Linked DNA regions of Homo sapiens: regions 1 and 2 are each linked to region 3. Evidence: promoter capture Hi-C in 16 types of primary human blood cells and fetal thymus (Javierre and others, 2016). All regions are on one chromosome and are shown on one strand. The core of a region is centred on a gene start or on the middle of the fragment in contact, and the rest is flanking DNA. Distances in the headings are between cores, read along the strand shown.

Region 1 (2,868 bases), core at 226-2,725, 190 kb after region 3:
GGGACTACTGGTGCGTGCCAACATGCCCAACTAATTTTTGTATTAGTAGAGATGGAGTTTCTCCATGTTGGCCAGGCTGGTCTCAAACTCCTGACTTCAAGTGATCCTCCTGCCTCGGCCTCCCAAAGTACTTTGATTACAGATGTGAGCTCCCGCACTCACCTGGCCAAATTTTTTATTCTTTTATTTTTTATTTTTTTTGAGATGGAGTCTCACTTCGTCGCCAGGCTGGAGTGCAGTGGCACGATCTCAGCTCACTGCCACCTCTGCCTCCCGGGTTCAAGCGATTCTCTTGCCTCAGCCTCCCAAGTAGGTGGGACTACAGGCGTGCACCACCACGCCCGGCTAATTTTTGTATTTTTAGTAGAGACGGGGTTTCGCCGTGTTGGCCAGGCTGGTCTCGATTTCTTGACTTTGTGATCTGCCCGCCTTGGCCTCCCAAAGTATAGGGATTACATGCGTGAGCCACCAGGCCCAGCCTAAAATTTATTTTATTATCTGTTCTTTAACTAGAACCTTAGGTAAGGAGGTCTGGGATCTGTGTCTCTTGGCTACCGTGCCTGGCACACAGTTGGCGCTCCATGAATGCACGCACAATGAAGGGATGGCCCTGCCTGGAATCTGCCTGGTAGGCGTCTAGACTCTGGGGCCCCGCAGGTGAGGGATAGGCTCCCGGCTCTGCCTTGTGCCAGCCCCACCGGTCACTCCCCTGCTCTATGCCTCAACCTCCTCATCAGTCAAACAGGGATGACAGTAGTAACTATACAGGGTGATGTGAGTGTAAAACCAGCTAATGTGAGCCAAAACCCGGCTAATTTTTGTATCTTTAGTAGAGACAGGGTTTCGCCATGTTGGCCAGGCTGGTTTCGAACTCCTGACCTCAGGCAAGCTGCCCACCTCTGCAGGGTGGATCACCTGAGGTCAGGGCAGAGTCGCTGGAAACAGTCCATGACACCTGGCCTGAGCTGTTTCTTAAAAATATATCAGAAGGGCCGAGCGTGGTGGTTTATGCCTGCAATCCCAGCACTTTGGGAGGCCGAGGCGGGTGGATCACCTGAGGTCAGGAGTTTGAGACCAGCCTGGCCAACGTGGTGGAACCCTTTCTCTACTAAAAATCCAAAGTTAGCCCGGCGTGGTGGTGGATGCCTGTAATCCCAGCTACTCGAGAGGCTGAGGCAGGAGAATTGCTTGAACCTGGGAGGCAGATGTTGCAGAGTCAAGATCCTGCCACTGCACTCCAGCCTGGGCAATAAGAGTGAAACTCTGTCTCAAAAAAAAAAAAAAAAATATATATATATATATATATATATATATATATATATATATATATATATACACATATATATATATACACACACATATATATATGATATATATATAATGTATCAGCAGTAGCACGGGTCTGACGGTTCCTGATTGGCTCCGAGGAGGGGGACAGCTCCGGGTGAAGCCTGAGGAGAATCCGCCCCTTCTCCAGAAGGAGGAAGAAGGGCCCTGCTGGTCACACAGGACCCAGTCTGCGGTGGGGGTTTTCCCGCCACCGCCCCGCCCTCCCTGGGGCCCCCACCTCACCCTCTCCTGGCACCCTTCACCGTCAACCTGTCGGGCCGGGTCTGAGCAGGTCTGGAGGTGGGCGGGGAGCCCTGGCCTCCCCACCTCCTCCCGTCCCCACCCTGTTCCCAGCACTCAAGCCTTGCCACCGCCGAGCCGGGCTTCCTGGGTGTTTCAGGCAAGGAAGTCTAGGTCCCTGGGGGGTGACCCCCAAGGAAAAGGCAGCCTCCCTGCGCACCCGGTTGCCCGGAGCCCTCTCCAGGGCCGGCTGGGCTGGGGGTTGCCCTGGCCAGCAGGGGCCCGGGGGCGATGCCACCCGGTGCCGACTGAGGCCACCGCACCATGGCCCGCTCGCTGACCTGGCGCTGCTGCCCCTGGTGCCTGACGGAGGATGAGAAGGCCGCCGCCCGGGTGGACCAGGAGATCAACAGGATCCTCTTGGAGCAGAAGAAGCAGGACCGCGGGGAGCTGAAGCTGCTGCTTTTGGGTGAGTCCAGGGTCGGTGGGCGGTGGGTGGTGGGCAGTGGGCGGTGGCCAGCCGGCAGGGGTGTCGGGGCAAGGAGGCGGATCAGGCTAGGTCAGACATTGGCATCGTGGAGCCGTCGCCTCCTCCCAGGGAATGGGGAGCCTGGAACCCATTTTCCAGATGAGAAAGACTGAGGTTCAGAGAAGCCAAGTTCCTTGTCCAACGTGCGACCAGCGGCCAGGTGCCCAGGCCTGTCCACTGTGTGGGGCATATACAATAGCAGACGTGGCTCTACCGGGCCCCTGCCGGGCAGGCCCAGCACGCCCTACCTGTCTGTGTCATGGCGAGGGAATGATGAGCTCAGGTGTGCAACCCGTTCTGGCCAGCCCACCCGTAAGGGAGGGGCCGGCTCCAGCCTCTCCTTCACCAGGACGCTCCCTCTCGCCTTTACCTCCCTGCCATGGCTGGAGAGGGCTTGTCTAGGGCTCCTTTGGGGGCTAGAAAGGATGGATTGATTGGTTCATTGGTTCATTCATTCATTATTCATTCATTTAAGATTTATTGGGTAGCTCCCAGGAACGAGGCAGCCAAACAGGGGAAGATATTTCTGTCTTCCTGGATCTCATTTCCTGTGAAGGAGCCAAGACATTTAGTCTGTAAACTCATAAGCAGATAAAATAATTCTGGCAACAAGAATTATCTAGGAGAAAACAAAACAGGGTGATGGCTTCCATGCGGAGGCTTCAGATGGGGGAGTCGACGTCAGTAACGGTTCAAGATTCTGAACTCTGGCTGGGTGCAGTGGCTCAAGCCTGTGATTTCAGCACTTTGGGAGGCCCAGGCGGGTGGGA
Region 2 (2,766 bases), core at 63-2,562, 150 kb after region 3:
GAGCAAGACTCCATCTCAAAAAAAGAAGAAGAAAAAAAAGATATCCCTTGGGTAGGGTTAGCTTAACGGGCTTACAGCAGTGCCTGGTATCCTGTAGGCATTTCATGAATGCGTATACCTGGCCTGGAATGGTGCAGGCACTGCAGTAAGGCCTGATTGACACCTGATGGACAGCAGGCACTCCATTAATCTCTGGTCCGTGCCTGGCATATAGAATGTGTCCCATTAATGCCTGATACACAGTAGGTGTCCCATTAACGCTTTTTAATTTTTTTTTTTGAGACAGAGTCTCGCTCTGTCGCCCAGGCTGGAGTGCAGTGGCATGATCTCAGCTCACTGCAAGTTCCGTCTCCCGGGTTCACGCCATTCTCCTGCCTCAGCCTCCCGAGTAGCTGGGACTACAGGCGCCCGCCACCACGCCCGGCTAATTTTTTGTATTTTTAGTAGAGACGGGGTTTCACCGTGTCAGCCAGGATAGTCTCGATCTCCTGACCTCGTGATCCACCCGCCTCGGCCTCCCAAAGTGCTGGGATTACAGGCGTGAGCCACCGCGCCCGGCCCTCTTTTTTTTTTTTTTTCTTTGGAGACGGAGTTTCGTTCTTGTTGCCCAGGCTGGAGTGCAATGGCGTGATCTCGGCTCACTGCAACCTCCGCCTCCTGGGTTCAAGTGATTCTCCTGCCTCAGCCTCCCGAGTAGCTGGGATTACGGGCGTGCACCACCACGCCGGGCTAATTTTGTAGTTTTAGTAGAGACGGCGTTTCTCCCTGTTGGTCAGGCTGGTCTCGAACTCCAGACCTCAGGTGATCCGCCCGCCTCGGCCTTCCAAAGTGCTGGGATTACAGGCGTGAGCCACCGCGCCCGACCTCCATTAACGCTTTTTAATGGATGAGTGAAGGTTCCTGTCAGGCAATGTCAGGGCGCTTCCCGGGGGCAGCGACTGCTGCCCAGGCACCTGGAGACCCAGAGAGCGCAGCGGCCGCGTGCGCGCCTCCGCCACCGCGCCTGGGCCGAGCCGAGCGGGACCGAGCGGGGCCGAACGGAGCCGAGCGGAGCCGAGCCTGGCCGGGCCGAGTCCGCCACATTCCCACAATCCCGGGCGGCCCCGCCCCGGCTCCCGGCTGCGCGTCCCCCTTCCCACGTCGGCGCAACCAAACCCGCGGGCCCCCCGCCCTCGCCCCGCCCCGCCCCTTTCGCGCCCGCCGACGCCCCGCCCAGGCCGCTAGTCCCGCCCCCATGGTGGGCGCGCTTGGCCGCCGGCCCCTCCCATTGGCCGCACCGTCTGCCCGTCGCGGGCTGCGCTCCCAGCCTGCTAGGTTGTCCGGCGCTGTCGCTCGGTTGCGGCGGCTGCGGTTGGCGGTGGCTGCGGCGGCGGCGCGGGCTGAGTGCGGCCGCGCGGGAGTCCGCGGCTGGCGCGGCCCGAGCGGGGACCCGGCGGCTCGCCAGGCGGCGGCCGAGGCGGGGCGGGCCGGCCCGGGGCCGAGGGCCGGTGGCCGAGGCCGGAGGGCCGCGGCGGGCGGCGGCCGAGGCGGCTCCGGCCAGGGCCGGGCCGGGGGCCGGGGGGCGGCGGCGGGCAGGCGGCCGCGTCGGCCGGGGCCGGGACGATGACTCTGGAGTCCATGATGGCGTGTTGCCTGAGCGATGAGGTGAAGGAGTCCAAGCGGATCAACGCCGAGATCGAGAAGCAGCTGCGGCGGGACAAGCGCGACGCCCGGCGCGAGCTCAAGCTGCTGCTGCTCGGTGAGTGCGGCCCCCGGGCCTGCCGGCTGCGGGCCCTGCCCTGCCTGTGCCTGCCCTGCCTGTCCGGGTCGGGCCGGGACCCTCCGGGGTCAGCCCTGCCTGTGCCGTCCGGGTCGCGAGACCCTCCGGGGTCAGCCCTGCCTGTGCCTTCCCTGCCTGTCCGGGTCGCGGGACCCTCGAGTGTCAGCCCTGCCTGTGCCTTCACTGCCTGTCCGGGTCGGGGCGGGGCCCTCCGGGATCAGCCCTGCCTGTGTCGTCTGGGTCGGCTCGGGACCCTCTGGGGTCAGCCCTGCCTTTGCTGTCTAGGTCGGCACCTGGGACCCTCCGGGGTCAGCTGCGGGCCCCTGATTTCTTTGGGGTCAGCCCCTGCCTTAACTGTTCATGTTGGCACCTGGGACTCTCCGGTGTCAGCCTGTGTCTGTCCTGTCTGGATCAGGCCCCCGATCACTCCTAGGTCAGCTCCCAGCTTCTGCTGTCTACATTGGGCCTCCAGGACTCTTCAGGATTTGCCCTCTGTTCCTTCTCAAGGGACCAGTCCCTCCCTGCACAGGGACCTTCTGACCTTACCCCACCGGAGTACCCACCCCTCGCTACCCCTTCAGGGCCAGACCTTTGGGCTGTAACCCACAGGGCACACTCACCCCTCACTGCTCAGGGCCCCGCGTTGACCCTTCCCTCCAGGCAGAGCCCTGTACACTCCATGCAGGCCCTGTACCCTCCATGCAGGCCCTGTACACCCCCCCATCCCCCCGAAGACTCCTCCGTGTCCCCTATCCCCACATTCCCTTCAGGGCCATTCTCCTGCCTTCCTGTTCCGGGAAACCCCGTACTCCTCTTGGCTGGAATGCACCCTGTGGGAAAAAGACAGTCTTTCCTCTCCTCAGGGTTCCGCTCAGCTGAGGGTGGGGCGGTTGACACCTGAGGGAGCCTTTGCTTGTTGTCCCAAGCAGCTATCTCGGCAGCCTCCCCCGCCCCCTTCCTTAGAGTCCTGGTGGGAGCCACGCTGAGTCCTCGTTGAGAGCAGCCCC
Region 3 (2,700 bases), core at 145-2,644:
CAAAGAAATTGGAAGTGATAGGAAACAGTGGAATAACTGTCAGAGAGGAAGCAGTGGGAACAAAAGACAGGAAAGAAAAACATGCCTATTATCAGAGTCCCTGAAGAAGTAAACAGTAGCACAGCTTTTCACCTTACATCATTAAGAAACACATAAATAGGCCGGGCGCGGTGGCTCACGCCTGTAATCCCAGCACTTTGGGATGCCAAGGTGGGCAGATCACCTGAGGTCCAAAGTCCGAGACCACCCTGACAAACATGGAGAAACCCCATCTCTACTAAAAATACAAAAATGAGCTGGACATGGTGGCAAATGCCTGGAACCCCCGCTAATCGGGAGGCTGAGGCAGGAGAATCACTTGAACCCAGGAGGTGGAGGTTGCAGTGAGCCGAGATCATGCCACTGCACTCCAGCCTGGGCAACAAGATCAAAACTCTGTCTCAAAAAAAAAAAAAAAAAAAGGAAAAGAAACACATAAATACTATAATAAATGTAGCAACGTACCTTGCAGAAGATCCAAAGGTTGCTTGTGGAATTGGGCAAGGGAATCTAAATTTCCAGAGTTAGTATGCAGTGGTGGAGAGAGGGTTGTCGGAAATCTAATGTTAAGTTTTAAAGCAGAGGAAACAGTGTGACTTGGTATTTGAGGTGTGTGCGCGCATTTTCTGTTTTCCTACCAGACTCTTCAGTTATGTGCAATTTCTTCTGTTCACTTAGTGTTTCTTAGGGTTGAAACTGAACATAAACAAATATGAAATTCGTGTTATACTCACATTACTCAACATATCAGGTAATTTGTGAAGACAGAGATGTTTCCTGATCAATTGTTCTAGCCGACTGACAGCCAATATCTACATAGAATTATTTCAAAGTCGCAGGGTGCGGTGGCTCACGTCTGTAATCCCAGCACTTTGGGAGGCCGAGTTGGGCGGATCACAAGGTCAGGAGATCAAGACCATCCTGGCTAACATGGTGAAACCCCGTCTCTACTAAAAATACAAAAAATCAGCTGGGCGTGGTGGCGAGTGCCTGTAGTCCCAGCTACTCGGAAGGCTGAGGCAGGAGAATGGCGTGAACCCAGGAGGCGGAGCTTGCGTTGAGCTGAGATCACGCCATTGTACTCTATCCTGGGCAACAGAGCAAAACTCTGTCTCAAAAAAAAAAAAAAAAAAAGAATTATTTCAAAGTCAATTGAGTGGCTGGGGGCAGTGGCTTACGCCTGTAATCCCAGCACTTTGGGAGGCCGAGGCAGGCGGGTCACGAGGTCAGGAGTTCAAGAGTAGCCTGGCCAAGATGGTGAAACCCCATCTCTACTAAAAATACAAAAATTAGCTGGGTGTGGTGGCGGGCACCTGTAGTCCCAGCTACTCGGGAGGGTGAGGCAGGAGAATCACTTGAACCCGGGAGGTGGAGGCTGCAGTGAGCCGAGATCACACCACTGCACTCCAGCCTGGGCGACAGCTCGAGACTCCGTCTCAAAAAAAAAAAAAAAAGTAAATTGAGGACACTGTAACACTCTGCTCTTAAACACCTCCCAAATGCTATTTTAGAGAAAAATCTGTATTTTTATCTAAAAGTCCACACTTCATATTCGCACTTTAGATAGTTAACAATCATTCCTTTATACCTAGCCCATAATCGTATTTCCTTCAATTATACCCCAAATGGTCTTTACAGCTGGTCCTCCGAAGATCCAACCCCAAACCAGGTATTGCATCTTCTTTTATTTTATAGTATTATATGGTCATGTTGAATTTTTCTTTTGAGGTGTAGTCTATGAATTTTTGTGTATGTATAGCGTTAACGGGTGAATTGCGTCCCCACAAATCCGTAAGGTGAAGGCCTAACCCACAGTACCTCAGAAGGTATTTGAAGATAGGCCTTTAAAGAGGCAATTCGATTAAAATGAGATTAAGGTGGGCTCAAATCCAAAAGACTGGCGTGCTATTCATTGCAGGGTGTTGAGCAGCACCCTAGACCTCCTCATCCACTGGATGCCAGTCGCCCCAACCCCATCCCCGGTTGTGACAACCAAGTCTGCAGACATTGTCCAGTGTCCCCTGGGCGTAAAATTTCTCCTCCCCTCTTTGATAATCACTGCTTTAGACTCTATTTGGTCTTAGAGTCTTTTCTCTGAAGTCCATCATTTTATCCGCCGTAACCCTGCTGTCTTCACTTAAGGGGTCCAAGACGTTTACAGGAGGGTGATAATGGTGATGATGAGCTGCCAATAATAATCCACACACAGCACTATTTGACAAATGCAGGTAATGTTATGTATTTTACAGACCTGGAAACTGAGGCACTTAGGGGCTTGGCAACTTGCCTAATATCACCCGAGAGCTGATTAAGGCTTGGGGCCAGGACTGGGACCCCAGGATGAAGCCCAGCTGAGCAGAAAACCTCTGTGCACAGGATGCAGCAATCAAGATAATAAAAATCAACTCCGACTGAGAAAGTATCTGCCTACACATTCATCAGGCTGGGAGGACAGACCCAGATGGTATCAGTTGGAAAATTAACAGAAAACAGTATTTTTGCCAAGGACACCTTTTTCTGAGCCATCAATGTCTTCTAGCTCGCTAAATGCCTTCCTTGCCCATTACAATCATACACAGTGATTGACATTTTATCAGTAAGAATAAACTTCCCTTTTCCGGCCGGAGGGTCTGATTTTCTTGGACACAGAGAATCCGTCTC

Evidence for each region. Contacts are between HindIII fragments. The CHiCAGO score rates a contact against its expected background, and 5 or more counts as called.
Region 1: a contact is called between the fragment with the promoter of GNA15 here and a fragment that was not itself captured in region 3, in 1 of 17 cell types (endothelial precursors). The highest score is 5.5, in endothelial precursors.
Region 2: a contact is called between the fragment with the promoter of GNA11 here and a fragment that was not itself captured in region 3, in 3 of 17 cell types (total B cells, M0 macrophages and naive B cells). The highest score is 6.2, in total B cells.

Annotation. Positions count from the first base shown.
Region 1 is chr19:3,134,558-3,137,425 of GRCh38, forward strand. It overlaps GNA15 (G protein subunit alpha 15), which reads left to right and starts at 1,476. Exons shown (of 7, transcript NM_002068.4): 1 at 1,476-2,038. The coding sequence starts at 1,894. The HindIII fragment of the contact is 24,748 bases long and covers 1-2,868 here.
Region 2 is chr19:3,093,050-3,095,815 of GRCh38, forward strand. GNA11 (G protein subunit alpha 11) reads left to right here and starts at 1,313. Exons shown (of 7, transcript NM_002067.5): 1 at 1,313-1,738. The coding sequence starts at 1,603. RefSeq lists silencers at 982-1,231, 1,252-1,371, 1,692-1,821 and enhancers at 1,118-2,105, 2,106-2,766. The HindIII fragment of the contact is 9,364 bases long and covers 1-2,766 here.
Region 3 is chr19:2,947,408-2,950,107 of GRCh38, forward strand. No RefSeq gene overlaps it. Among named protein-coding and RNA genes, the nearest start is that of ZNF77, 3.8 kb to the left of the region's middle. The HindIII fragment of the contact is 2,883 bases long and covers 1-2,700 here.